Regions from separate parts of the Homo sapiens genome. Here all the other regions are linked to region 6. The links are contacts of gene promoters, found by promoter capture Hi-C in blood cells and fetal thymus (Javierre and others, 2016). All regions are on one chromosome and are shown on one strand. The core of a region is centred on a gene start or on the middle of the fragment in contact, and the rest is flanking DNA. Distances in the headings are between cores, read along the strand shown.

What was found. The method cuts DNA at HindIII sites, captures the fragments that hold promoters and counts their contacts. A CHiCAGO score of 5 or more calls a contact.
Region 1: the fragment with the promoter of RBMX here is called in contact with the fragment with the promoter of MMGT1 in region 6 in 12 of 17 cell types (naive CD8 T cells, neutrophils, fetal thymus and 9 more); the score reaches 13.2 in naive CD8 T cells.
Region 2: a fragment that was not itself captured here is called in contact with the fragment with the promoter of MMGT1 in region 6 in 3 of 17 cell types (neutrophils, naive B cells and total B cells); the score reaches 6.7 in neutrophils.
Region 3: a contact is called between a fragment that was not itself captured here and the fragment with the promoter of MMGT1 in region 6, in 1 of 17 cell types (monocytes). The highest score is 6.5, in monocytes.
Region 4: a contact is called between a fragment that was not itself captured here and the fragment with the promoter of MMGT1 in region 6, in 7 of 17 cell types (neutrophils, non-activated CD4 T cells, naive B cells and 4 more). The highest score is 7.7, in neutrophils.
Region 5: a contact is called between a fragment that was not itself captured here and the fragment with the promoter of MMGT1 in region 6, in 1 of 17 cell types (neutrophils). The highest score is 8.7, in neutrophils.
Region 7: a fragment that was not itself captured here is called in contact with the fragment with the promoter of MMGT1 in region 6 in 5 of 17 cell types (fetal thymus, total CD8 T cells, non-activated CD4 T cells and 2 more); the score reaches 8.6 in fetal thymus.

Annotation. Positions count from the first base shown.
Region 1 is chrX:136,878,549-136,882,705 of GRCh38, forward strand. RBMX (RNA binding motif protein X-linked) reads right to left here and starts at 2,177. Exons shown (of 9, transcript NM_002139.4): 1 at 2,049-2,177; 2 at 771-905; 3 at 469-575. The coding sequence starts at 879. It overlaps SNORD61 (small nucleolar RNA, C/D box 61), which reads right to left and starts at 723; the gene lies at 651-723. RefSeq lists enhancers at 1,102-1,701, 1,503-1,562, 1,573-2,032, 1,702-2,300. The HindIII fragment of the contact is 13,799 bases long and covers 1-4,157 here.
Region 2 is chrX:135,105,267-135,109,434 of GRCh38, forward strand. No RefSeq gene overlaps it. Among named protein-coding and RNA genes, the nearest start is that of SMIM10L2B, 8.6 kb to the left of the region's middle. The HindIII fragment of the contact is 6,245 bases long and covers 1-4,168 here.
Region 3 is chrX:135,088,917-135,092,562 of GRCh38, forward strand. No RefSeq gene overlaps it. Among named protein-coding and RNA genes, the nearest start is that of SMIM10L2B, 8.0 kb to the right of the region's middle. The HindIII fragment of the contact is 620 bases long and covers 1,572-2,191 here.
Region 4 is chrX:135,002,809-135,006,628 of GRCh38, forward strand. No RefSeq gene overlaps it. Among named protein-coding and RNA genes, the nearest start is that of SMIM10, 14 kb to the left of the region's middle. RefSeq lists enhancers at 1,264-1,774, 1,775-2,283 and a silencer at 1,297-1,356. The HindIII fragment of the contact is 2,953 bases long and covers 436-3,388 here.
Region 5 is chrX:135,038,972-135,043,037 of GRCh38, forward strand. No RefSeq gene overlaps it. Among named protein-coding and RNA genes, the nearest start is that of RTL8C, 8.6 kb to the left of the region's middle. The HindIII fragment of the contact is 5,942 bases long and covers 1-4,066 here.
Region 6 is chrX:135,972,729-135,976,597 of GRCh38, forward strand. MMGT1 (membrane magnesium transporter 1) reads right to left here and starts at 1,260. Exons shown (of 4, transcript NM_173470.3): 1 at 869-1,260. The coding sequence starts at 947. It also overlaps a transcript of SLC9A6 not described here. RefSeq lists an enhancer at 809-1,338 and a silencer at 1,349-1,458. The HindIII fragment of the contact is 2,640 bases long and covers 1-2,543 here.
Region 7 is chrX:136,911,494-136,915,253 of GRCh38, forward strand. No RefSeq gene overlaps it. Among named protein-coding and RNA genes, the nearest start is that of RBMX, 33 kb to the left of the region's middle. The HindIII fragment of the contact is 5,729 bases long and covers 1-3,760 here.

The DNA.
Region 1 (4,157 bases), core at 927-3,426, 910 kb after region 6:
CAGCCTGGCCAACATGGTGAAACCCTGTCTCTACTAAAAATACAAAGTTAGCCGGGCGTGGTCGCGCATGCCTGTAATCCCAGCTACTGGGGGGGGGGGGGGGGGCTGAGGCAGAAAAATCGCTTAGAACTCGGGAGACAGGCTGCAGTGGGCACTGCACCATTGCACTCCAGGCTAGGCAACGGAGGGAGACTATCAAAAAAAAAAAAAAAAAAGTACCATGTAATGCCATAATTATTCTGAACTGAGAGAATGTTACGAGCATAAGATATAACTCACTACTAGATTTGGTTCTGCAATTACAGAATACTCTTTGGAACAGGATCACAAACAGGATGAGTGGATCCCAGACAGGTATATACTGAAAAACAACGAAAACTCAAAAGCTGTCCTAGACCAGACTTGGACAACTACATGTTATTTTATGCACTAGTAACAGGTTATCATCCATCGTGTAGACAATCTCACCTTTCCATTCATGTCTCTGGCTGCATCCTTAGCGTCTGCTGGGCTTTCAAAGGTGACAAAAGCAAATCCTCTTGATTTGTTGGTTTCACGGTCTTTCATCAAGAGTACTAAAAAGTAGTTTTCAGAAAAATAAAGTGTTACCCTAGGTCAAATGAAATAACCAAAGTAAATGTGTAAACAGAAAGCTCAGAACTTCTTAGAGGACAAAAATACATTATCATGTCAGACGATCAATGCAATCAAATTCATCATAGCTTATATTTTAATTATAATAGCCCAGCCTGTACTGCCAGACAACTCACCTTCCACTATTCGTCCATATTTGCCAAATACTGCTTCAAGAGCTTTCTCATTTGTTTCCGTATTAAGCCCACCAATGAAGAGCTTTCCTGGGCGATCTGCTTCAACCATGTTTTTTTTTTTTTGGGCCGGTGAGTCTGTTGAAAAGGAATAGTATTACCTCACTGCAAAAAGTTCCTCAAGTTTATTGGACACTTTTACTTTCGCACATTTCTCATATTTTCCACTAAAACCATTGTTCCTTAATAACTAAAGAAAACGATAACGAGCTAAGCCTCAGCCACAGTAGGAAGCAATTTGAACTAAGTAGTTTAGTAACACTGCAATTTACATAAAACTGGTTAAAAGGGCCAACTTAACTTTTACCACTACCCTTGATCACCCTTAGCTGTTCTTAAGCAACAGCTGCTTAACATTTGAAAAAGCAACTTTTAGTTCCAGTCCTCTTGCCTTTGAAAGATTCAATTACTCATCACACCCTTCCTAACGATGGTTTTAAAAGACTCCCAAGGTCACAGGCTAGACACAGGACCTTAACACCAAGCCCTCTTCCAACGACTCCTCTTTTCCTCATTAGGATTCCCTACTAAATCCAAGGAGAAATGTGAAGTTTAAGCCAAGTTATGCCGCCCCTCTTCTTCACCGGCCCCCGCCCTACCGAAAATTCTACTATCCGGCCAAAAAGATAAAAACAAATCGTCAACATCGTTTGCTATTAAGTAACGGAACGCGGACGCACACACTAACACTCGACACTCCGTGACTGCAGCGGAACCTAATTAAAACTCGTCATTAAAAACCGCGTGTAAAAGACAAAATGGCGACACTTGGATTCAACCCAGAACCACCGACACTGGTCAGGGGACTAACTTTTACCACCAACATTGGCTGGGAACATTCAGAGGGCTTCTTCTCCGGGGCCGCCAATGAATACGAAGCCCGCAGCCCGCATGGAAGTCCACATGCCCATCATTAGCGCCAGCGCCATACCAATGCAGGTATCGCCGTGGTGCGGTCGCTCCTCGCCCCGCTCCAGCCTACAAAGCCCCGACCTCCGCTACCAACTCCCGCAGATGGCAGCCAAACTTTCTCGAGAAGCATACAACCAAACGGGCCCCCTCATTTGTTTTCCCTCGACCCCCTCAGCTTTATTTAAATAGGTCGGAACCTTTGGGTTCTTAAAATGGCGCCCGCCACCCCCATCTCCAGGGAGATATAATCCCCAGTCCTAACACGGGGAGAGTGTCACGAAAAACGGACTGAGGAAAGGAGACACGTACCGGAGGGGTGACAATGGGTTCAAGCTCCAACGAGCTCGGCGATAGGGGCTTCCTAGCAGCTCAGCACCAGTGGCGGCTGCCGGGTGCGAGGACCGAACCGCGAAGCCGCTAGCACTACTGCGCAACGAGGGCGAACAAAGGAGACAGCAAACTTTATACTGCCCGGGAACGAGGCTGAAGGACCCGGATGGAAACGGAGCTTAGAATTTGAAACGCAAAGGGAGGGGGGAAGTAGTTCCCAGTCTCCCCATTGGCTGGCTCCTCTGTCATTCACCCTTCTCTCCTCCCTTTTTCCCGGGCCCTCGGTGTTGGGTCGACAGACCTTTCTAACCGTTTTCTCTACCCCCACCCGTTCTTTACAAACGCGCTTTTTTTGCTTTACGCTAAAATGGTGCACAGGCTTCCTTTAATAAAGAACTGAAGTTTATTGAGCGTCCTAGTGGGCCGGGCACGGTGCAAAACTTTACTTTTACTTTTCCATTAACTCTTCTAATTGTCAAAATGTGATGAGGGTAGATACTCCTACTATACCAATTTTGCAGAAACGGAAAACAAAGAAGTTTTGGCAATATAATATATTTTCAAAAATTGTCTTTAACAAGTGTTTTTAGTGAGTGTGGGAATTTCTGATAAATACATGTAAATTTCAGATGAGTAAAAAACGTACAAAACAGCATGCAGATAGTACATTCATATAGAACAATTACTGAGCACCTTGTAAATGGTGGGCTCTGGGCTAGGCCAGGAAAATACAACTCCAGGGAAAAGACAAGAGTCAGGCCTGTGGGTAAGGATGCCGGATTTAATAAATGAAAATACCAGGCCGGGTGCAGTGGCTCACGCCTGTAATCCCAGCACTTTGGGAGGCCAAGGTCGGTGGATCACGAAGTCAGGAGATGGAGACCATCCTGGCTAACACGGTGAAACCCCGTCTCTTTTTAAAAATACAAAAAATTACCCAGGCGTGGTGGCACGCGCCTGTAGTCCCAGCTACTCGGGAGGCTGAGGCAGGAGAATCCGGGAGGCGGAGGTTGCAGTGAGCCAAGACTGCGCCACCGCACTCCAGCCTGGGCAGGCGACAGAGCGAGACTCCGTCTCAAAATAAAAAAGAAAATGCGGGACGCTAATTTATTCTGCGAAGCTGTTAAAAAATTTTAAATAAAAATATGGGACGCGGCCGGGGCGCGGTGGCTCATGCCTGTAATCCTAGCACTTTGGGAGGCCGAGGCGGGCAGATTGCCTGAGCTCAGGGGTTTGAGACCAGCCTGGGCAACATGGTGAAACCCCGTCTCTACTAAAATAAAAATAAAAAATAAAAAAATTAGCCGGGCGTGGCGGCGTGTGCCTGTAGTCCCAGCTACTCGGGAGGCTGAGGCAGGAGAATTGCTTGAACCCAGGAGGCGGCGGTTGCAGTGAGCCAAGATCATACCACTGCACTCCAGCCTGGCAACAGAGCGAGACTTCGTCTAAAAAAAAAAAAAGGGACGCCCAGTTAAGTTTAAATTTCAGATAACGAATACTTTTTTTAGTATAGTATGTCCCAAATCTCATATTTTAAAAATTCGCTGTTTATCGGAAATTCAAATTTAACTGAGCATTCTATATTTCATCTGCCCATCCTACTTGTTGAGGGGGGAAACCAAAAAATTTTTTAATTTTTTTCTTAAAGAAATTGAATACAATTAACAAAAGAATGGCATGTTGTGATTAATGCCAGGGAGGAAATAAACTAGTTGCTTTGATGGACAATATTAGGGAGAACAAATTTGATTAAAACATCAGGGAAGGTCTATGTGAAGAGGTGACTTTGGAGATCAGAGCTGAAGGAAGAAAAGAAACTAGCTATGGGAACAGCTGAGGGAAAAACCTTCAGGAAAAGAAGAGAATAGTAAACACAAAGTAGAGAGGAAGAGCTTGGCATATATCAAGGGACAGAAAGAGGGCCAGGTGACAAGAATATGAGGGGCATGAAATGAGGGAGCCAAGATTGGCAGGACCTTTGAGCCCATTAAATGACTGTAGGGGGTAAGTGTGGGAAAAAGGACACTAATAGGGCTGTGGGAGCAGACCAGAAAGAGAGGATGGTGGCTTGAATCAGGGTGGCGGCAG
Region 2 (4,168 bases), core at 948-3,447, 870 kb before region 6:
TTTCCAGCACTAATGGTTCCCAACCCAAGGATTATTTGGAACGCAGAAGGTGGCCATTGCCACCAATCGAGAGAATAGTTTGTCATTTTATGTGTCTGTTTCTAATATTTTATTGAGAGTGAGAGAACAGTCCTCCTCTTTTTAGAATTTTAAAAAACATTTTTGTAAATGTATCAAAAATTGTTGCTCACTGGCTGTTAAAACTCCAAGTTCTTCAGTTTTTACAGACTGAATTTCCTGTTTGTAGCCAGCTCTAGTTGTCACCTTGTCTGTGGGAGGATTCAGAATTGGGACCAAAAATTGTTGTAGCCTCATTTATCTTCCCCAGGTACCATGCCAGCTGGCACACACAGAAACGTGGTGATGATCGTGTCAGGTTTCTATCAAGTCATAAAATATTTCCATTGTAAGAGTCTGATTGTTATATTCATGTTGCACTTTAGCTTTTTTAGCATCTTTAAATTTCAGCAGCCATCTTGAAGAGTAATTATCGTCTAAAATCCAGTAATTTGAAAGGGTTGTGACTAAAGGGTTGTGACAGGTCTCTGTTGCCTGTACTTGCAGTGAAGGGGGCTTGTAAGGAGGTGGAAACTGAGGCTCTGAGATAGGTTAGGTGGGAGTCTGTGAACCCAGTGTATTTGCATTCACAATCAGCATTATTATTTATTTATTTTTAAATTTCAACTTTTATTTTATTTTATTTTCTGAGACAGGCTCTTGTGCTGTCACCCAAGCTGGAGTTCAGTCATGCGATCTTGGCTCACTGCAACCTCTGCCTCCCAGGCTCAAGCAATCCTGCCTCAGCCTCTTGAGCAGCTGGGACTACAGGCCATGCCACCATGCCCCGCTAATTAAAATTTTTTTGTGTAGAGATGGGGGTCTCACTATGTTGCCCAGGCTGGTCTCAAACTCCTAGGCTCAAGCAATCTTTCCACCTGAACCTCCCAAAGTGCTGGAATTACAGGCATGAGTCACTGTGCCCAGTCTCAGCTTTTATTTTAGATACACAGGGGTACATTTGCAGGTTTGTTACATGGAAATATTGTGTGATGCTGAGGTTTTGGATATGAATCCTGTCACCCAGCTAGTGAGCATTGTATCCAACAGATCGGTTTTCAACTCACCCTTCTCCCTTCCTCCCTCCTCCCCCTTCTAGTAGTCCACAGTGTCTATTGTTTCCATATTTATATCCATGTGTGCTTAATGTTTAGTTCCCATTTTTGAGCTGGAACATGTGCTATTTGGTTTACTGTTCCTGTGTTCATTCGCTTAGGATTATGACCTCCAGCTCCATCCATGTTTCTGCAAAGTAGTAAGATTTCATTCTTTTTTATGGCTGCATAGTATTCCATGGTGTATTTGTGCCACATTTGTTTTATCCAATCTACCATTGATGGGCACCTGGGTTGATTCAGTATCTTTGCTATTGTGAATAGTGCAACCATGAACACATGAGTGCATGTGTTTTCTTGGTATAATGATTTATTTTCATTTGAGTATATACCAGTAATGGGATTGCTGGGTTGAATGGTAGCTGTTTTAAGTTTTTTGAGAAATCTGCAGACTACTTTCCACAGTGGCTGAATTTATTTACATTCCTATCAACAGGTATAAGCATTCTCTTTGCAGCCTCGCCAGCATCTGTCATTTTTTGACTTTTTAGTAATAGCCATTGTGACTGGTGTGAGATGGTATATCACTGTGGTTTTGATTTCCATTTCTCTGATGATTCGTGATATTGAGCATTTTATAATATTTGTTGGCCACCTGTATGTCTTCTTTTGAGAAGTGTCTGTGCATATCCTTTGCCCATTTTTAATGGAGTTATTTGTTTTTTCTTGTCAATTTAAGTTCACTATAGATTCTAGATATTAGGCCTTTCTTGGATGCATAGTTTGTGAATATGTTATCCCATTATGCATGTTATCTGTGTTTTTTTTTTCTCTATTGACAGTTTCTTTTGCTGTGTAGAAGCTCTTTAGTTTAATTAGGTCTTATTTGTCCGTTTTTGTTTTTGTTGCAATTGCTTTTGGGGACTTAGTCAAAAATTCTTTGCCAAGGCTGATGTTGAGAAGAGTATTTTTTAGGCTGTCTTCCAGGATTTTTAGAGTTTGAGGTCTTACATTTAACTCTTTAATTGATTTTGAGTGAAATTTTATATATAGTGAAAGGTAGGGTTCCAGCTTTAGTCTTCTACATATGACTAGCCAGCTATCCCAGTACCATTTATTGAATAGGGAGCCCTTTCCCTATTGCTGGTTTTTCTCGGCCTTGTCGAAGATCAGATGGTTGTAGATGTGTGGCCTTATTTCCAAATTTTCTATTCTGTTCCATTGCTGTATGTGTCTGTTTTTGTACCAGTACAAAAAGCTGTTTTGATTTCTGTGGGTATATAATATAATTTGAAGTTGGGTAGTATGATGCCTCCAGCTTTGTACTTTTTTCCTAGGATTGCATTGGCTATTCAGGCTCCTTTTTGGCTTCATGTGAATTTTGGAATAGTTTTTTTTTCTAATTCTGTGAAGAATGATGTTGGCAGTTTGATATGAATAGCATTGAACCTGTAAATTGCTTTGGGCAGTATGGCCATTTCTATATTAGTTCTTCCTACCCATTAGCATGGAATTTTTAAAAATTTATTTATGTCATCTCTGATTTCTTTCATCATTGTTTTGTAGTTGTCCTTGCAGAGATCTTTCACCTCCTTGGTTAGCTGTATTCTTAGGTATTTCATTTTCTTTGTAGCTATTGTAAGTGGGTTATGTTCTTGATTTCACTCTCAGCCTGGATATTGCAGGTGTGTAGAAATGCTCCTGAGTTTTGTACAATGATTTTGTATCCTGAAACATTACTAAAGTGATTTATCAGTTCTAGGATCCTTTTGGCACAGTCTTTAGGGGTTTCTAGGTACAGAATCATATAGTCAGTGAAGAGAGATAGTTTGACTTCTTCTTTTGCTATTTGGATGCCTTTTATTTCTTTTTCTTGCCTGATTGCTCTAGCTAAGACTTCCAGTACTATGTTGAAAAGGGGTGGTGGGAGTGGGCATCCTTGTCTTGTTCCAGTTACCAAGGAGAATGGTTTGAGCTTTTGCCCACTCAGTATGAACCTGGCTGTGGGTTTGCCATAGAACCTTATTATTCTGAAGTTTGTTCCTTCAATGCTTAGTATGTTGAAGGTTTTCATCATGAAGGGAAGCTGGATTTTATTGAAAACTTTTTGTACATCTATTGAGATGTTCATATGATTTTCCTTTTCATTCTGTTTATGTGGTGAACCTTGTTGATTGATTTGCATATGTTGAACCAGTCATGCATCTCAGGAATGAAGCCTACCTGATCATGGTGTATTAACTTTTTGATATGCTGCTAGATTTGGTTTGTTAATATTTTGTTGAGGATTATTGCATCTATGCTCATGAGGGATATTGGTCTGAAGTTTTCTTTTTTCATTGTGTCTCTGCCAGATTTTGGTATTAGGCTGATGTTGGCTTAATGGAATGAGTTAGAGAGGAACCCCTCCTCCTTGATTTTTTTTGGAATAGTTTCACTAGGATTGATATTAGTTATTCATTGCACATCTCATAGAATTTGGTTATGAATCCATCTGGTCCAGGGCTTCTTTTGGTTGGTAGATTCTTTATGACTGATTCAATTTCAGAAGTTGATATTGGTCTATTCAGGGTTTCAATCTCTTCGTGATTCATTCTTGGGAGATTGTGTGCTTCTAGGAATTTATCCATTTCCTGTAAATTTTTAGTTTGTATCCAGAGAGTTGTTCATAGTCATCTCTCAGGATCTTTTGTGTTTCTGTGAGATCAGTTGTAATATTGCCTTTGTCATTTCCGATTGTACTTATTTGGATCTTCTCTTTCTTTGTCTTTGTTAATATAGCTGGTGATCTATCAATCTTATTTCGTTTTTCAAATAACCAACTCTTGGTTTCATTGATCTTTTGTATGTATTTTTGCATTTCATTAAGTGCTTCTCTAACTTTAGTTATTTCTTGTCTTCTGCTAGCTTTGGGTTTTTTTTTTTCAAGTTCCTTTAGGTGCAAAGTTAGATTGTTAATTTGAGATTCTTCTAACTTCTAGCATTTAGGGCTATAAAGTTTCCTCTTATTAACACTGGTTTGGTTGCATACCAGAAATTTTTGATGTGTCCCAATT
Region 3 (3,646 bases), core at 632-3,131, 880 kb before region 6:
TAGATGGAGATGAGGAACTTGTTGGGAACTGTAGTAAAGGTCACTCTTGCTATGACAAGAGATTGGCAGCATTGTGCCCCAGCCCTAGAGATCTGTGGAACTTTGAACTTCAGAGAGATGATTTAGGGTATTTGGTGGAAGAAATTTCTAGGTGGCAAAATGTTCAAGAGGAAGCAGAGCATAAAAATTTAGAAAATTTGCAGCCTGATGATGTGACAGAAAGGAAAACCCCATTTTCTGGGGAGAAATTCAAGCCTGCTGAAGAAATTTGCATAAGTAGCGAGGAGCTGAATGTTAATCACCAAGACAATGGGAAAAATGTCTCCGGGGCATGTGAGAGACCTTCATGGCAGCCCCTCCCATCATAGGCCTGGAGGCCTAGGAGGGATCAATGGTTTCCTGGGCCAGGCCCAGGGCCACCCTGCTCTGTGCAGCCTCAGGACATGGTGTCCTGTGTCCCAGGTGCTTCAGCTCCAGCTGTGGCTAAAAGAGGCCAAGGTACAGCTCAGGCCATTGGTTCAGAGGGTGCAAGCTCTAAGCCTTGGTGACTTCCATGTGGTGTTGAGACTGTGGGTGCACGGAAGTCATGAACTGAGGTTTGGGAACCTCTGCCTTGATTTCAGAGGATATATGGAAATGCCTGGATGTCCATTCAGAAGTTTCCTGCAGGGGCAGAGCCCTCATGGAGAACCTCTGCTAGGGCAGTACAGAAGGGAAATGTGGAGTTGGAGCCCCCACACAGAGTCACCACTGGGGCACTGCCTAGTGGACCTGTGAGAAGCGGGCCACCATTCTCCAGACTGCAGACCCCAGAATGGCAGATCCACCAACAGCTTGCACCGTGTGCCTGGAAAAGCCACAGATGCTCAATGCCAGCCTGTGAAAGCAGCTGGGAGGGGGGCTGTACCCTGCAAAGCCACAAGGGCAGAGCTGCCCAAGGCCGTGGACATCAGCATGACCTGGATATGAGACATGGAGTCAAAGGAGATAATTTTGGAACTTTAAGGCATAATGACTGGCCTATTGGATTTCGGACTTGCATGGGGCCTGTAGCCCCTTTGTTTTGGCCGATTTCTCCCATTTAGAATGTATGTATTTACCCAATGCCTGTACCCACATCATATCTAGGAAGTAACTAACTTGCTTTCAATTTTACAGGCTCTTATGTAGAAGGGAACTGCCTTGTCTCAGACTTTGGATTTGGACTTTTGGGTTAATGCTGGAATGAGCTAAGCCTTTAGGGGACTGTTGGAGAGGCATAGTTGTGTTTTGACATGTGAGGACATGAGATTTGGGAGGGGCCAGGGGTGGAATGATATGGTTTGGCTGTGTCCCCACCCAAATCTCATCTTGGATTATAGTTCCCACAATCCCCACATGTGGTGGAGGGGACCCGGTGGGAGGTAATTGAATCATGGGCTTGGTTACCCCATGTTGTTCTCATGATAATGAGTGAGTTCTCATGAAATCTGATGGTTTTATAAGGGGTTTTTCCCCCTTTGCTCGGCACTTCTCTCTCTTGCCACCTTGTGAAGAAGGATGTGTTTGCTTCCCCTTCCACAATGATTGTAAGCTTCTTGAGGCCTCCCCAGCCATGCAGAACTGTGAGTCAAGTAAACCCTTTTTCTTTATAATTACCCAGTCTTGGTTATTTCTTCATAGCAGTGTAGGAATAGACTAATACAGACTCAATGTCTGCTCTTCATCAATGTCATATTTAAATATTGTGGCAAGTGACTGAGCCGCCTCGGCTGGTTGCTGTTGCCTGGGGTCCTGCTTGTCACTTGATCCTCTTCCTGGGAGGAACTGGGAATGTGAGATGATGTGGGGTTGTGTCCAGAGGGTCAGGCATTCATGTGTTTGTGGCATCCATTAACTACAAGGCCAAGACATCCATGTCCAAGGAGAAGGCCCCAGGGTTAGAGCCAGGAGCCCAGACTAAAGGCAGTGTGGGCGAGCCTGCCAGCATGGGAGGGGAATGTTCTGCTTTTTCTCCAAAACAGGAGGCCAGGAGGAAGAGTCAAGGAGTCTGTGCTGTTCTCCACTGGTCAGGCAGTTGAGGAATATGGCCAGATCAGTCCTCAATGATCCCATCGTTCACTAGAGATTCCCACTCTCTGAGCCACCCTAATGGGGAAGGAGTTGAGGGCTAGGATTGCTTGGGAACTAATGGGATGGGGCTACTTTTGTAAGCTTTTTATACCACAGGGGCAGGACAAGGGCTGCAGGGGATTGAATGAAAGGCCAGGAGAGAAGTTCATCTATGGAAAAGGCCCAGTGGTGAGATAGTAAAATGTGTCAGCAAATTTTGTTTTCATTATTGAGTTGAAATCCACATAACATAAAATCAACCATTTTGAAATGTATAATTCAGTGGCATTTAGTACATTCACAATGTTGTGTAACCATCACCACTGTTAGTTCCAAAACATTTTCATCTCCCTAAAAGGAGACCCTGTACTCATTAAGCAGTCACTCTCCATCCTTCCCTCCCCTAGACCATGGCAACCACTAATCTGCTTTCTGTCTGTATGAATTTACATATTCTAGACATTTCATATAAATGGAATCATAAAATTTGTAATCTTTCGTGTCTGATTTCTTTCACTTAGCATAATATTTTCAAAGTTCATCCACCTTGTAATATGTATCAAATCCTTCATTGTGGGATTATTTTGGGGCTGAATAATATTCCAGTGTATAAATATACCAAGTTTTGTTTATTCATTCATCAGTTGATAGACTGATAGACATTTGGGTTGTTTCCACCTTCTAGCTATTGTAAATAGTGCTGCTATGAAAATTCATGTTTGAGTACCAGCTTTCAGTCATTTGAGTATGTACCTAGGAGTGGAAATGCTGGGCTATAGGATAATTCTAGGTTTAACTATTTGAGGAACCACCTGTTTTCCACAGTGGCTGCTGTACCAGTTTACATGCCCATTAGTAATGAACAAGGGTTCCAATTTCTCCACATCCTCACCAACACGTGTTATTTTAATTTTTTTAAAAAAAGTTGAGCTGTGCGTGGTGACTCACACCTGTAATTCCAGCACTTTAGGAGGCTGAGGAGGGTTGATCACTTGAGGCCAGGAGTTCAAGACCAGCCTGGCCAACATGGTGAAATCCCGCCTCTACAAAAAACACAAAAACTAGCCAGGTGTGGTTGTGCACGTCTGTAATCCCAGCTACTTGGGAGGCTGAGGCATGAGAATCACTTGAACCCAGGAGGCAGAGGTTGCAGTGAGCTGAGATTGTGTCATTGCTCTCCAGCCTGGGCATTGAAGACTCTGTCTCTAAATAAATAAATAAATAAATAAATATCCTAATGTGTGAAGTGGGTGAGGTGAGCTCATTGTGGTTTTGATTTGCATTTCCCTAATGACTAATGACATTGAGCATCTTTATGTGCTTGGTGGCCATTTGTATCACTTCTTTGGAGAAATGTGTATTGAAACTCTTTGCCCATATTTTGATTGGGTTGTCTGTCTTTTTTTGTTGAGTAGCTAGAGTTCTTTTTATATTTCTGGATACAAGTCTCTTATCAGATATATATTTTAAAATATTTGCTCCCACTCTGCAGGTTGTGTTTTCACTGTCCTGATAGTGACTTCTTATGCACAAAAGTTTTTAATTTTGATGAGGT
Region 4 (3,820 bases), core at 662-3,161, 970 kb before region 6:
GAGTTGCCATTTACCAAGATGGGGAAGACAGAGGAAGTGTAGACTTGGGAGATGAAAAATATAAGTCTTGATAAATCCATCATGATTATTAAATCATTCTATTTATTTAAAAAAGCAGGCTGGGTGCAGTGCCTCATGCCTGCAATCCCAGCACTTTGGGAGGCCAAGGCGGGAGGATCACCTGAGGTCAGGAGTTCAACACCAGCCTGGCGAACATGGCAAAACCTCGCCTCTACTAAAAATTAAAAAATTAGCCAGGCATGGTGGCATGTGCCTGTAATCCCAGCTACTTGGGAGGCTGAGACAGGAGGACTGACTGAACCTGGGAGGCAGAGGTTGCAGTGAGCCAAGATCGCGCCACTACACTCCAGCCTGCACAATAGAGCGAGACTCCATCTCAAAAAATAAAAAAGTAAACCGGTAACAGTGAAACTAAGCTTCTCTTAAATGTTCCAATATTATATGTATATATATGTAGTATGTAGTATGTATGTATATATGTAGTATGTATGTATATAAAAATTAGTAAGAGTTTTACTTAAAATCCTAACTCTAAACCCATGATTAAATTATGTATTTTAAATTCGAACCGCATCTTCTTTGGGCTGAGCTGTTTTGGGCATCCAAGGGGGGTTGACACACAGCAGTATCTCATAAAAACACATGATTCATGAAAGAAACAGAAGTGTCATTAAAACTGACTGCCCTAAGTAAATGGTGTATTATGTGCATATATGTGATTATGATGTTAAAGAAAGTAATGTAATGATCAGAGTGGCAATTCAATTTTGTGGTGTTGGTAAAACACTAAAAGCAAATGTTTCTGGTAAAATAATACAATCCCTCCTATTTTTATATTTTCAGCATCTCTGAAGATGTCCTATAATTATTTTCATTTAGTGTCCTAATATAGCAAATTAATAGATTTCTGAACATTTAACCCACCTTCTATTAACTGTTCATGGTGCATTACTCTTTGAATGTGCTGCTCTGGATGTTTGCTAATATTTGGGGCTTTCCTATTAATGTTTCAAAGTAACCACATCTGCGGCCAGGGAGCCAATAATCTGGCTGAGAGATGCATGAAGGAGGAAAATGTGTTCACAGAACCTCACTCCAGTGGCGTCCACAGCCGAGAGTCAGTAAAGGGACACGCTACAGCTGATGAGTTAGGTGAGGGGAGGAGTACGGTAGGAGGCCGCATCACCTTCCAGAACACGTGTCCTCTGCTCTCTTTGGGCAGCGGGCGCAATCTCCCCTCACACCGCAAACTGTCCTGGGATCTTCCCCCGCGCACCGCCCCTCGCCCGCGCCTGCCTTGGGAAATCTTGGCCCCACCTTTCTGATTCAGACCCCGCCTCCTGAAGAGAGTTAAGCCCTCCCCCACGTTCTCACAGCCGCGGCCCGGCCCCGTTCTGAGCTTGCGCACTAGTGACCATCGGGCTTTGGGGGCGGAGCCCGCGCAAGCACTCAGGCCACGCCCATGGCCAAGCCCACATTCCGCCCCATGGACAGGCCCACATTCCGCCCCATGGACACGCCTCCACAACCATGCATTTCCGGTGATGCTTAGAAATATAAAGATCGGAGTGGTAATGTAATTTTGTGACGTTGGTGAAAGACTAAAAGCAAATGGCAAAATCATACCCACTGACCTGAAATAGGGTCCAAATCGGGACAAAAAGGACATTTTTCTTTGCCTCCACCCTCTGACACAGCCTTTAGGAGGACAATGCCCTACGGCTGCCCCCAGCTGCCTAGAATCCACTCTACCCCAGACTACAGTGACAATTCTAAGCCCACCTGTCTTATGCAGAAACCGGGAGGCAGAAGGGGGCACACAACAGGAAGGGGAAGAAATGTTCTCTGAGGGAGAAACAGGTCCGTTTGGCACTTTCCACAGATGCACCCAACTCCGACTGGAATAACTGCTGCTTACTCCTCTGCTCATTGTGTCTTTGCAATTAAAAGAAAAAATTGAAGTAATTATCTCTGGTGAGTCACTTTCTGTATAGTTCACTTGTTATTCTCTCCTTTGTGCCATTATGAATTGACAAGTCCTTTGCAATAAGATAGAGAACAGTTTTGTAATAAAAAAGAACACAGTTGTTTAAAAAAAAACATGAAAACACAGGTTACAAAAAATGAAGCAATAAGGTAATGCACATAAATTAAGTCAAAGCAATGGAAAATAAATTGCAAACACAATAGAGTTATAAATATATATGGAAAAGAAGGACTAGATGACAATAAAACAAGATATAAACTGTTTCAGTTTATATGGTAAGAATAATGCTATTTTTTTCTAATAATCTCTGTTTTCAAATTTTCTTTAATGAATATCTGTGTACCAGCCCTTGTCCATTCTAGGGTGCTGTGGGGTTAAGATCAAACAAGGTATAGAATCACACATGCCTGGGTTTTAATCCTGCCTCAGCAAATTACTAACAGTATGTCCTTGAGCAAGTGACTTGACTTCTCTGAGACATACATATAGGGCCTGGCTGCCCAGATTACTATAAGCATGAAGAAAGATGATACAGACTAATGCTCAGCACAGGGTCTGTCAGAGGTAGTAACTGGGCTAATTGTAGCTATTACAATAGGGAACTTGATGGGTTTGTGATTTTGCTATTTATTTATTTTATTATATTACTAATCCTCAGTTAAAAATACATGTGAGAAGCATCCCCCAAATCTCACCAAATTTTTCTTTAGTTTCTTACCCTGTAGGTCCTATTTCTTCCTTGAGGGCATTTACCGCATCTTGCCCTCATATAATGTCTCTTTCCCCAGACATTGCCCCTCTCCATCCAGGCTCCTCATCGTCACTTACAGTTTCTCTGGGGAGTTAGGATGGCAGGGTGAACCAGCCTTATATACTCCCTAGTCTATGGATGGTGATAGCTCAGGGAACCTCCAGCAGCAGCAATTCCTGTCTCAGTGTGTCCCTGGCTTTCTGAGACAATGGTCATCTTAACTCACACATTCCCTTGTATAATGAAAAAATGAGGGAAGATGACATGTACTTGGCCAATGACCCTCCACTATCTGGGGGCCAGTGCAACTGGGCATCGAAAGCCTTATCTGGGCTGAGTGGCAGTGGCTCACACCTGTAATCTCAGCACTTTGGGAGGCTGAGGCAGGAGGATTGCTTGAGGCCAGGAGTTTGAGACCAGCCTGGGCAATATAGCAAGACCCCCCTCTCTACAAAAAAGAAAAAAATAAGCTGGGCGTGGTAGTGCATGCCTGTAGTTCCAGCTACTCGAGAGGCCGAGGCAAGACAATCGCTTGACCCCAGGAGTTGAAGGCTGCAGTGAGCTATTATTGTACCACTGCACTCCAGCCTGGGTAACAGAGCAAGATTCATTACTGGATGCCCATCACAAGCTTTCAAAGACTGTGTGTGGCCGCCATCGGCTGAGACAGTGCTAGAAGGGAATTTGGTTAATGGTAATAACTTGGACGTCACTGGCCATCTGCTCCCTAATCCTTCAGTCCCTTTCAAACTCCCCACTGCCCAGAACAACATTTCAGAGAATCTCTGGGAAGAGTGGCACACATATGGAGGCGTGGGCAACAGTAGCTGGCTGGGAGTGGTTCACAGCCTAATGTGAGACTCATTCTGTAACACAAGAGAGGGTAATAAAAGGCATATCAATCAAGTTTCAGCTGCAATTGGAGAAGTGATTTGAGCTTAGCATACTAGTAAAACCCTAACACAAGAGGTGAGACACTGCAGCTTGGGCCCCTCTAGACTGAATGGAAAGAATAGAGTTTCTGAAACCGGCTGTTTAAGATCACTATGAAATCCCAGGGA
Region 5 (4,066 bases), core at 1,396-3,895, 930 kb before region 6:
TACTCTTGGCCATTTTAATCCACCTTAGCTCTGCTTTTGCTTTTTCCCCCAATAGCCAGAATCTGTGGCTTTTTGTCACAGGACTACAGAACCAACCTCCTTTTGTCTCCAAGCATGAAGAGCCAGTATCTGAGAATTAAAGTCCTCCAGAGAGTAGACTTTAGCTAATAATTGGTAGATATATAGTTATAAGTATTCCAGCTCTGTTGTTCTGTTTGAGACAACTGTGATTTGTGACCTGTATTGTCTCCAGTGTCCCCCTATTGGATTGTGCCAAAGTGATCCTAAATGGTACCTTGGTTGATATCAAAATATTGTTCGGCCTTCTTCCTCTCCCTGTTGCATGGTCCCACTCCCTGGTCACTATATTTTTACTTGGACCACTTCCTAATATATCACTTTCCGATGAGTCCTCAATCAGAGTCAGCTTATGGGGAACCCAATCTAAAGGCACAGCCAAGTTGTTTTCCAAAATATTTCTTTTACTTTACACTCTTGCCCTCAATGTTTGTGGTCCCATTTCCTCACTAGTATTTGGTACCATCGGTCTAACTTTTTGTCAAGTGTGTTGCTTTAATTACTTTGTATTGACTAAATTTATATGTTAACTATGCATATTAACTTTTTGGAGTGATCACTAAAATAATGTAAATAGAATGTATAACTTCTTAATGAGTAGAAAAAAGTAATGAATTAATACAAGGAACTTAGAACGTTTTAATTACAAATAATTGCCTCCCAGGGTAAATGTTCTTCTTCTCATTACTTTAGCTCTGTTTTTTCATCTTCAAATTAGACATTTATGCTATTGTTTGTTTAGATTTAGCCATGTATTTGCCATTTTCTTTGCCAGCATTCCAGACATTTATACTAGTACATTTTCCTTCTTCTAAAGTATATCCTATAGATATACTCCTTTAATAATGGTCTATTAGGGAAACTGTGATGTCTTTCATTTTCTGAAAAGTTATTTTATCCTCATTCTTTTAAAATTATTCTTGTTGAGTCTCTTTGACTTGTGGAACCATTCATATCTCTTTTTTTCTATATAATATTGTATTATGTACCACCAAAACCTTAGTGATGCAATAGTTCTTAAATGACAATTTCACTTTTTTGTCCTAAATTTTTCCCGTTAATCCATCGTCATCAGTTTGGCAAGTTTTGATACAGGTGCTTTTAATGTTTGCATGTAAGCAGGCAGTAACTATTATGTCACAGCAGCCCCTGGGCCAACAACAATTCATAATTTTGATTGATTGTAATAAACACCTTGATATAAGAGATATTAAAAAGTGACAAATTTGAATAGAATTGATGGAAACAGCATTATTCTGTAGTCTTTTAGCTTCCATTTTTGCTATTAAAAAATTATTTGTCAGCCTAATTTTGTGTTTCCTCTTTAGTTGTTTGAAAGATCTCTTTGTGTTTGGTGTTCTGTAACTTTTCTACTGCTTATCTAAATATACAATCCTTTTTCTTTTTCTGATATTAAAAAAACTGAGATATGTTACATCCAGCAAAGGATAAAAATCTTAAGTGTATAACTAGATGAACATTTACATATGTATACATCAGTATAACACCACTCAGATCAATGTATAGAACATTTCCAGCATTCAAAAGGACTCTCATGCCCCCTCTCAGGCAGGAGCCTCTTATGTATAAACATTCTTCTGACCTTTATTACCAAAGATAAACTTTACCTGTTTTTGAACTGCTTGTAAATGAAATTATACAGAATTTATGCTGTATGTCTGTGAGATTCATCTATGTTGTGTGTTTCAAGTGTTCACTCTTATTTATTGAGGTATAAGTTGATAAGTCTGTGGTGATATCTCATTGTGCTAAATTTGCATTTCTAGGCTGAGTGAAGTGGCTGACACCTGCAATCTCAGCACTTTGGGAGGCTGAGGTGGGAGGATTACTTGAGCACAGGAGTTCCAGACCAGCCTGGACAATATAGTGAGACCATATCTCTAAAAAAAAAAAAAAAAAAAAAAAATTAGCTAGGTGTGGTGGTATGCACCTGTAGTCCCAGCTACTCAAGAGGCTGACAGAATCACCTGAGCCTGGGAAGTCCAGGTTGCAGTGAGTTGTGATTGTGCCACTGCACTCCAGCCTGGGTGACAGAGTGAGACCCTGTTTCTAAAAAAAAAATTACATTTCTATTATTACTAATGATAATGCGTGTCTCTTCATATGCTTTTTACCCACTTTGCTACCCTTTTTAATGAAATGCCGATTACTATGGTTGGAATATTTGTCCCCACTAAAACTCATGGTGCAACTTGATATGGTTTGGCTGTGTCCCCCCAACCCAAATCTCATCTTGAATTGTAATCCCCATAATCCCCACATGTTGTGGGAAGGACCCAGCAGGAGGTAACTGAGTTATGGGGGCGGTTTTCCCCATGCTATTCTTATGATAATGAGTGAGTCTCACAAGAGCTGATGGTTTTATAAGCATCTGGCATTTTCTCTGCTGGCTCTCATTCTCTTTTTTTTTTTTTTTTTATTTACCTGCAGATTAAAGTGTTCTTTATTTTTCTGCCTCTCTTTCTTAATTTTTTTTTAAATAATATGGATTGTAGTAAAGAGAAAGAAAAGAAAGAAAAAAGAAGGAAGGAAGGAAAGAAGAAAGAAAAGGAGGAAATGAGAGAAGGGAGGGAGGGAGGAAGGGAGAAAGGCAGGAAAGGAGAAAAAAGAAAGCAAGAACTCAAGAAAGAAAGTGAGAAAAGAAGGAAGGAGGAAGAGAGAATCTGGCTCTCATTCTCTATCCTGCCACCCTGTGAAGAGGTGCCTTCCACTGTGATCCTAAGTTTTCTGAGGCCTCCCCAGAACTGTGAGTCAATTTAACTGTGAGTCAATTAAACCTGTTTTCTTTATAAATTACCCAGTCTTGGGTATTTCTTCACAGCAGCATGAGAACAGACTAACACAACTTAATCCCCAGTGTGGCAATATTGAGAGGTAGGGCCTTTAAGAGGTGATTGGATCATCTCTTAAAGTAAATGGATTAATTCATTCATAGATTAATGGATTAATGGGTTGTTCTGGGAAAGGAACTGGTGGCTTTATAAGAAGAGAAAGGGAAAGGGAAATCTGAGCTTGCAAGTTAGCACACTCAGCTCCTTCACCATGTGATACCCTGCACCATATTGGGACTCTGCAAACAGTCCTCACCAGCAGGAAGGGTCTCATCAGTTGTGACCCCTTGACTTGGACTTCTCTGCCTCCATAACTGTAAGAATACATTATTAAAAAAAAAATTACACTGTTTCAGGTATTCTGTTATAAGCAACAGAAAATTAACTAATACACTCATTCAAAAATCTCACCTATTTTTTATTGGTTTCTCATTTTATTGACTGGTGGCAACTATTTATATGTTCTTTTTTTAAAAAAAATTTTAGTTTCAGGGGTACCTGTGCAGGTTTGTTATATAAATTGCATGTCGCAGGGCTTTGGCATACAGATTATTTTGTTGCCTAGGTAATAAGCCTAGTACCCAATAAGTAGTTTTTCAATCTTCACCCCCATCCCACCCTCCAACTTCAAGTAGGCCCTGGTGTCTATTGTTTCTTTCTTTGTGTTCATGTGCACTCAATGTTTAGCTCCCACTTGTAAGTGAGAACGTGGTATTTGGTTTTCTGTTCCTGCTTTAGTTCACTTAAGATAATGGCCTCCAGCTCATTCCTTATTGTTGCAAAGGACGTGATCTCATTCTTTTTTATGGCTGCCCAGTATTCCATGGTGTATATGTACCACATTTTCTTTATTGAGTCTACCATTGATGAGCATTTAGGTTGATTCCATGTCCTTGCTATTGCTAGTGCTGCAATGAACATATGCATGCATATGTCTTTATGGTAGAACAATTCATATTCCTTTGGGCATGTACCCAATAAAGGGATTGTTGGGTTGAATGGTAGTTCTATTTTAAGTTCTTTGAGAAATTGCCAAACTGCTTTCCACAGTAGCTGAACTAATTTACATTCCCACCAGCAGTGTATAAGTGTTCCCTTTTCTCTGCAACCTTGCAAGCATTCTCTTATTTTTTGAC
Region 6 (3,869 bases), core at 10-2,509:
TTATTAAAACCCAGATTCTGATTGAACAGGTCTGGCCTGAGTATCTTCTAATTACCTGCCAGGTGGTGCTCATGATGCTGGTCTGTTGATCACACTGTAAGCAGCAAGGATCTAGGATACTTTCCTTAACCTCCCAGTTCCCCCAAAATATGACTGTCCCTGCTTCCATGCATCCTTATATACTTTTAGCATATCACTTTATTGTAACTACTTCTTGATCCACTTGTTTTCCTTTAGACTTTGAACTGGCTCAGGGCATCACTGTATCTCTAGCACCTAAACACAGCGCAATTTCAAACAGCGACCCAAAACTGAATTTCATAACGCAGTGTAGCACAAATCTTTTGCCCAACGTCACACAGATGTAGCGGTAATGCAAGTTTTTAACAACCAGTCCTTTAGACTCCCAGTCCAGTGCTCTTTCTCCTGTACCACAGTGCCTCCCTGAGGCAATCGGTCACTTAACTACTCAGTCTCTGCCTGGACAGCCCAAGAGTGCCCAAGATGTTGTCCACTTGGTTGTCGTGGGACCATGAGCAACCAGAGTCCTCAATCTCACAACTGTGCCTGATCTGCCCCATGCTGGATCTGACATCACTTGTCCTGGATTCCTGGAGACTCCTATTCTGAACCCTCTCCCAGACACCTCCTTCCAACCTTCCTGCAATTTCAGGTGCCACACTCTCTCCAAATTCAAACTCCGAACCTTCCACTGGGAACTCCTGCACTGATTTTCTTAGTCACCCCAAACTGTAAGGTCTCAAAGGACCATTAATCTGACACTCGGTCCGATGGTCCCTTAGAAGTGCGCCCACACACCGCCCCTAGGGTTCCACACCGAAGCGGTCCCCGTGCCCCAGGCACTTACGCTGCGCAGCGGAAAAGGCGGCGTGGGCTAGGGCAAAGAGACCGATGCCCACCAGCCCCTTCCACAGCGACGGCGCCATGATGCCGAAGGAGCAGCAGCCCAGCAAAAGAAGCGAAGGACGGCGGAGCTGTTTCTTCTTCCACCGGCGGGTGTCCGCGCGCCGCAGAAAGATGACGTCACTGAAGTCCTGAGCGCAAAGTGTCTCAGTGGTGGAAAAGCCAGAGGGCTGTGAGAAAACGGAAACAGGAATGCCGGGAAGAAGCAGAAAGCTACACGGAAAAAGGTCCGCGAGAACCCACGAACCTGCGCTATGGAGGCCTCTCTAGGAGGGCCGGAGCCCAACGGAGTCATAAACGAAGAGGCGAAAGCGGGAGCTACGGGGAAGCGAAGAGGAAGGGCGCCGGCAAATGGGGGCAGGGCCAGTGGCGAGAACAGGGTGGGGCAGAGGGACGGGGGCCTGCGTAGAGAACGTGTGGGGGCGAGGGGCGGGGTAGGCAGACGGGCGGGGTGGGGAAGACGCGCGGGGCCCGCACGAGGGTGGGTGTAGCCGAGGGGCGGGGCCAGTGGGTGGGTGGGTGGGCGTAGCCGGGGGGGGGGGGCCCTGGTGGGTGCGGTCGAGTGGCGGGGCCTGCGGGGAGGATGGGTGGGGCCGAGGGGCGGGGAGGAGGTGGGGCCGAGGGGCGGGGAGGAGGTGGGGCCGAGGGGCGGGGAGGAGGTGGGGCCGAGGGCGGGGCCTACGGGAGGATGGGTGGGGCGTAGGGGGCGGGGCGGAGGGGACGGAGAGTGGGTGAGGGCCGAGGGGGCGGGGAGGAGGTGGGACCGAGGGGCGGGGAGGAGGTGGGACCGAGGGGGCGCGGAGGAGTGGGACCGAGGGGGCGGGGAGGAGGTGGGGCCGAGGGGCGGGAGGAGGTGGGGCCGAGGGGCGGGGCTGGGGGCGTTGGGGAAAGGCGGTAGGTGCTGGATATAGACCCCTGACAGTTGTGTTTTGTGGGTTGGTTGGTTTTGGCTTTTTGTGAAACTGTGCCTTTTGTTTTCTGTAGGCCTTTCCTGTGCTTCAGCTCCCTGGAAACTGGCACTGCAGAAGGAGGCAAGGGTGTTAAAACGAGGAGGCAGTGTCAGGACAAAATCCCAGGATCTGGAACCCCAAATACTTGGCTCGCGGGAAGTGCTCAGTAAACCATTTTAAGGTCCTGGAGAAAGATTCGCGCAAAAAGAGGTGTAGCGCGGGGGGAGTGTTTTGTCGTGAAAAGAACCAGCTTACATTAAGGAAGAAATGAAAGAGGAAATTTTAAAATGCTAATAACGCAGCCTTCTTGCCTTGTCTCTATCTCTGATCCGGGTAAAATGTATACTCCTCTGCCCATTTTTCTTTGTCTTCATCTCCTGAAATGTAGACATTTAATAGTGAGCTTCTCCCCTTGACCTCATCACTCTGCTGTCCCCTGGGGAGCTCACCCATTCATTCCCACCGCTTCAGCCAGCAAAGGTATTACAGTGATTCCAAATCGACATCTCTATCACAAATATCTCTCCTTAGCTCCAGGGCTGCATTTCTGACTACCAGATAGGCATTTATTTCCTGTGGCACTTAAAACGTAATATGGCTAAAATGGAATTCATCCTTTTTTTCCAAATTCTGCACCAGTTCCTCCAGTGACCCCTGACTGAGTGGCAAAGCTTTGTAAACTGCATATCACAAGGTAAATGCAAAGTATGATCACCATTCTTTTCCTTTAACCCAATCAGAATTCTACGTTTTAGTTGCATCAATTTGCTTTTGCTCAAAGATGCGTCCTATCCTGACCACCCCTTTTAAATGTGCAAAATTCCTATTCCTGATCCCCTTATTCTGTTCTACTTTTTATATCACCTTCTAACATACTATATAATTTAACTATTTATGTTTGTTGTGTTACTGTTTACTGTCTGTCTTTCCCCACTGGAATGTAAGCTCTGAGAGAACAGAGATTTCTCTGTACCTAAAACTTTGACTGTCATGTGATAAGCATTCAATAAGTGCTTGTTGAATGACAAATGAATTCCGGAAAATAATTGGGACAGTATCCCTATTTGAAAGGATCTCTACAGAGAGTCCTTCCAATCTTTTGAATTGGGCTCAAAAATCCCCATGGACTTGCATGTACTCTCACATTTTGACAACCTTTTGATTGTAAACATTTTCTGATATGCTTGAGCTTCCTCAAAGCTGGAAAAACAAATAAGACATCTCATTAGCTGGGCATAGTAGCACATGCTTGTAGTCCTAGCTACTTGGGAAGCTAAAGAAGGAGGATTGCTTGATCCCAGGAGTTCAAGGCTACAGTGAGCCATGATTATGCCACTGCACTACAGGCTGAGTGACAGAGCGAGACCCTTTCTCTAACCAAAAAAAAAAAAAAAAAAAAGTAGAAGAAGACATCTAAAATTAATCATATTTCCTCAACTTTACTTATATAATTTTTGTCCTGGATCTCATTTTCCAAACCTTTAGTCATGTTCATTATTCTTTTCTGGGCCCTTTCCAATTTCTTCACCTCTAAGCCAGAATTTTACACAATACTTGATGGATGTCAAGTGCAGTATAATGCATTCCTTACAAATGTAGTTCTATTTATACAATCAGGAAGAACCAGGAGATAATCTCTCTGTAGTTGACAGGAAAGTGCTTCCTTCTCCGCCCCTGGGAGGTAATAAGGTAGAAAAGATAGTTGACCAAAAAAATCTTACAACTTTGTTTTGTCTAAAATAATGGTCAGATTGAAATTAGCCTTTTCAGATCCCCTGTAAAATTACCCCTTCTTCCAGACCAGCCTGGCCAACATGGTGAAACCCCATCTCTACTAAAAATACAAAAAATTTGCCGGGCGTGGTGGTGGGCCCCTGTAATTCCAGCTACTCAGGAGGCTGAGGCAGGAGAATCGCTTGAACCCAGGAGGCGGAGGTTGCAGTGAGCCGAGATCACGCCATTGCACTCCAGCCTGGGCAACAAGAGTGAAACTCC
Region 7 (3,760 bases), core at 874-3,373, 940 kb after region 6:
TCCTTCCCTTTCCTTCCTTTCTTTTTCCCTCCCTCCCTTCCTCCCTTCCTTTCTTTCCTTCCTTCTTTCTTTTTTTTGAGATGAAGTCTCACTCTGTCTCCCAGGCTGGAGTGCAGTGGCACGATTTCGGCTCACTGCAACCTCCACCTCCTGGGTTCAAGTGATTTTCCTGCCTCAGGCTCCCGAGTAGCTGGGATTATAGGCACCCGTCACCACGCCCAGCTAATTTTTTTTTGTTGTTGTTGTATTTTTAGTAGAGATGGGGTTTCACCATGCTGGCTAGGCTGGTCGAACTCCTGACCTTAGGTAATCCACCCACCTCGGCCTCCCAAAGTGCTAGGATTGCAGGTGTGAACCACTGCACCTGGCAACATAAACTTTCTATACTGAATGAGACCTGTTTCCGGTATTTGGGGTTCACACATTTAAGTCTGTGATACATTTTGGGTTTTTTGTTGTTGGAAGATGTGAAAGGTTGAGATTAACTTTTTTTTTTGCCTATAGATATCTAATTTCTTTAGCATGGTTTCTTGAAAAGACTATCTATCCTTCCTCCGTGAAATTGCTTTTGCACCTTTTCAAATTTTTTTTGGCAGAGGCTTGCTCTGTCCCCCAGGCTGGAGTGCAGTGGCACCATCTTGGCTCACTGCAGCCTCCACCTCCTGAGCTCAAGCGATTCTTCTGCCTCAGCCTTCTTCTTCTTCTTCTTTTTTTTTTTGAGATGGAGTCTTGCTCTGTTGCCCACGCTGGAGTGCAGTGGTGTGATCTCGAGTTCAAGCAATTCTTCTGCCTCAGTCTCCCAAGTAGCTGGGATTACAGGCATCCGCCACCATGCCCGGCTAATTTTTTTTTGTATTTTTAGTAGAGATGGGGTTCCATCTCTACTACATGGTTCCATCTTTCTACATGGTTCCAACATGTTGGCCAGGCTGGTTTCGAACTCCTGACCTCATGTGATCCGCCCACCTTGGCCTCCCAAAATGCTAGGATTACAGGTGTGAGCCACCTCACCTGGCCCTGCCTCAGCCTTCTGTGTAGCTGGGACCACGCCCAGCTAATTTTTGTAGTTTTAGTAGAGACGGGGCCAGTCTGGTCTCAAATTCCTGACCTGAAGTAATCCACCTGCCTCGGCCTCCCAAAGTGCTGGGATTACAGGTGTGAGTCACCGAGCCTGGCAACTTTTTCACCTTTGTAAAAAATCACTTGGGCATAGTTGTATGGCTGTATTTCTGAGTTTTCTGTTGTACTGTTACATTGGTTTGTGTGTCAGGCATTAGCTTTTTGATGATTAAATTTGCATGCAATACCTTTGTGGAGTGCCATTGTTCTAACAGGAAAGTGTACCTTATCAAGAAATGCTATCCCTTGGACTGAAGAAACTTGGCAGTGTAGTACAACTCTGCTGCCAATAAGATTCTTTTTTGGTTCATATTTGTATTATTTCAGGACAGTAGGTGCTAAAATATGACTCTGTTTTTCATTGTTTACTCATGCTCATTATTTCCTGATTCATAACATTGGCACATTTCATCTGAAGGCTCTGGAAGAAAATAATAATAATAATAATAATAACACTGGGCCAGGTGCGGTGGCTCATGCCTGTAATCCCAGCATTTTGGGATGCCGAGGCAGGCGGATCACCTGAGGCTGGGAGTTCAAGAACAGCCTGACCAACATGGAGAAACCCTGTCTCTACTAAAAATACAAAATTAGCCGGGCATGGTGGTGCATGCCTGTAATCCCAGCTACTCGGGAGGCTGATGCAGGAGAATTGCTTGAACCTGGGAGGCGGTGGTTGTAGTGAGCCGAGGTGGTGCCATTGCACTGCAGTCTGGGCAACAAGAATGAAACTCCGTCTCAAAAACAAAAAACAAAAAGTAAAAAAACCACTGGCACTTTACCTTGATAATCCTCCATAGCTAGACCTTGTAAATAAGAAATTTTGTATTAAAAGTATCAAATATTTTATGATCACATTCTTTTGGTAACAGTGTTATTCAGAGAAAAATCACGTACCATATAATTCACCCACTTAAAGTGTCTAATTTAGTGTTTTTTAGTATATTCACAGAGTTGTACAACCACCACTACCATCAATTTTATTGTCACTTTTAAGTGAAGGATTGTATATCAGGGTAGTTCTTAGGAAGCTAGGGTGGATTTCATATCCCACCTTGTATGTTATTGAAGAAGACAAATTCTTCTCTTCAGTGATGACAGCATTGTGTGTGTGTCTAGTTGTAATCATTTCAGTTACAAATGAAAAGTAGAAGAGGAAAATGTAGAGAATAATGGCATACTGAAGTCTTTGAAGAAGTTTTACCTGTAAGATAAATTGCTTATTTCATATCCCACCTTGTATGTTATTGAAGAAGACAAATTGCTTATTTCATATCCCACTTTGTATGTTACTGAAGAAGACAAATTCTTCTCTTCAGTGATGACAGCATTGTGTGTGTGTCTAGTTGTAATCATTTCAGTTAGGAATGAAAATGTAGAAGAGGAAAATGTAGAGAATAATGGCATACTGAAGTCTTTGAAGAAGTTTTACCTGTAAGATAAATTGCTTATTTCATGACATTTGAATTATAAACTTTAGCCAAATCTCTTAATATTTTCAATTTTTTTCTTAACAGTTTTAACAAAACAGAAATGTGTAAAAATTTGTGTAAAATCTTACGATCGAGACCAAATGGACAAGCTGGCTTTTTTTGAAGAAAGTAATACGACTGAATTACTAGCATCATTGGTAGGTTTGGCATCTGAAATAACATGACTTGGCTGGGTGAGGTGGCGTGCCACCTCAGCACTTTGGGAGGCCAAGGTGGACAGATTGCTTGAGCTCAGGAGTTTGATACCAGCCTGGCCAGCGTGGCGAAAACCCATCTCTACTAAAAATACAAAAATTAGCCGAGCATGATGGCAGGCACCTGTAATCCCAGCTACTTGGGAAGCTGAGGCACATGAGAATTGCTTGAACCTGGGAGGCGGAGGTTGCAGTGAGCCGAGATTGCACCACTGCACTCCAGCCTGGGTGAAAGAGTGAGACGCTGTCTCAGAAAAAAAAAAAAAAATTAACATGACTCAATTAATTTTTCAATTCCTTTCAGAAGTTTTTTGTTTGTTTGTTTTGAGACAGGGTATTGTTCTGTGGCCCAGGCTGGAGCAAAGTGATGTAATCATAGCTCACTGCATCCTCAAACTCCTGGGCTCAATTGATCCTCTTAGCCTCCTGAGTAGCTAGGACTACAGGCATGTGCCACCATGCCTGGTTAAGTTTTGATTTTCTTTTTTGTCTTTTTTTTTTTTTTTTCTTGAGACAGAGTCTAGCTCTGTTGCTCAGGCTGGAGTGCAGTGGCGTGATCTAGCACACTCGAAATCTCCACCACCCAGGTTCAAACAATTCTCCTGCCTCAGCCTCCTGAGTAGCTGGGATTACAGGCACCCGCCACCACGCCCAGCTAATTTTTGTATTTTTAGTAGAGACGGGGTTTCACTGTGTTGCCCAGGCTGGTCTTGAACTCCTGACCTCGTAATCCGCCCGCCTCAGCCTTCCAAAGTGCTGGGATTACAAGTGTTAGCCACCGTGCCCAGCCTTTGTTTTTTCTTTTTTGCTGTCACCTTATTTTTTTTTTATTATTTTTATTTTCTTTTTGTAGAGACAGGGTCTAGCTATGTTGCCCAGGCTGGTCTTGAACTCCTGGCCTCAAGCAGTGCTTCCACCTTGGACTCCCAAAGTGAGTCACCACACCCTGCCAAA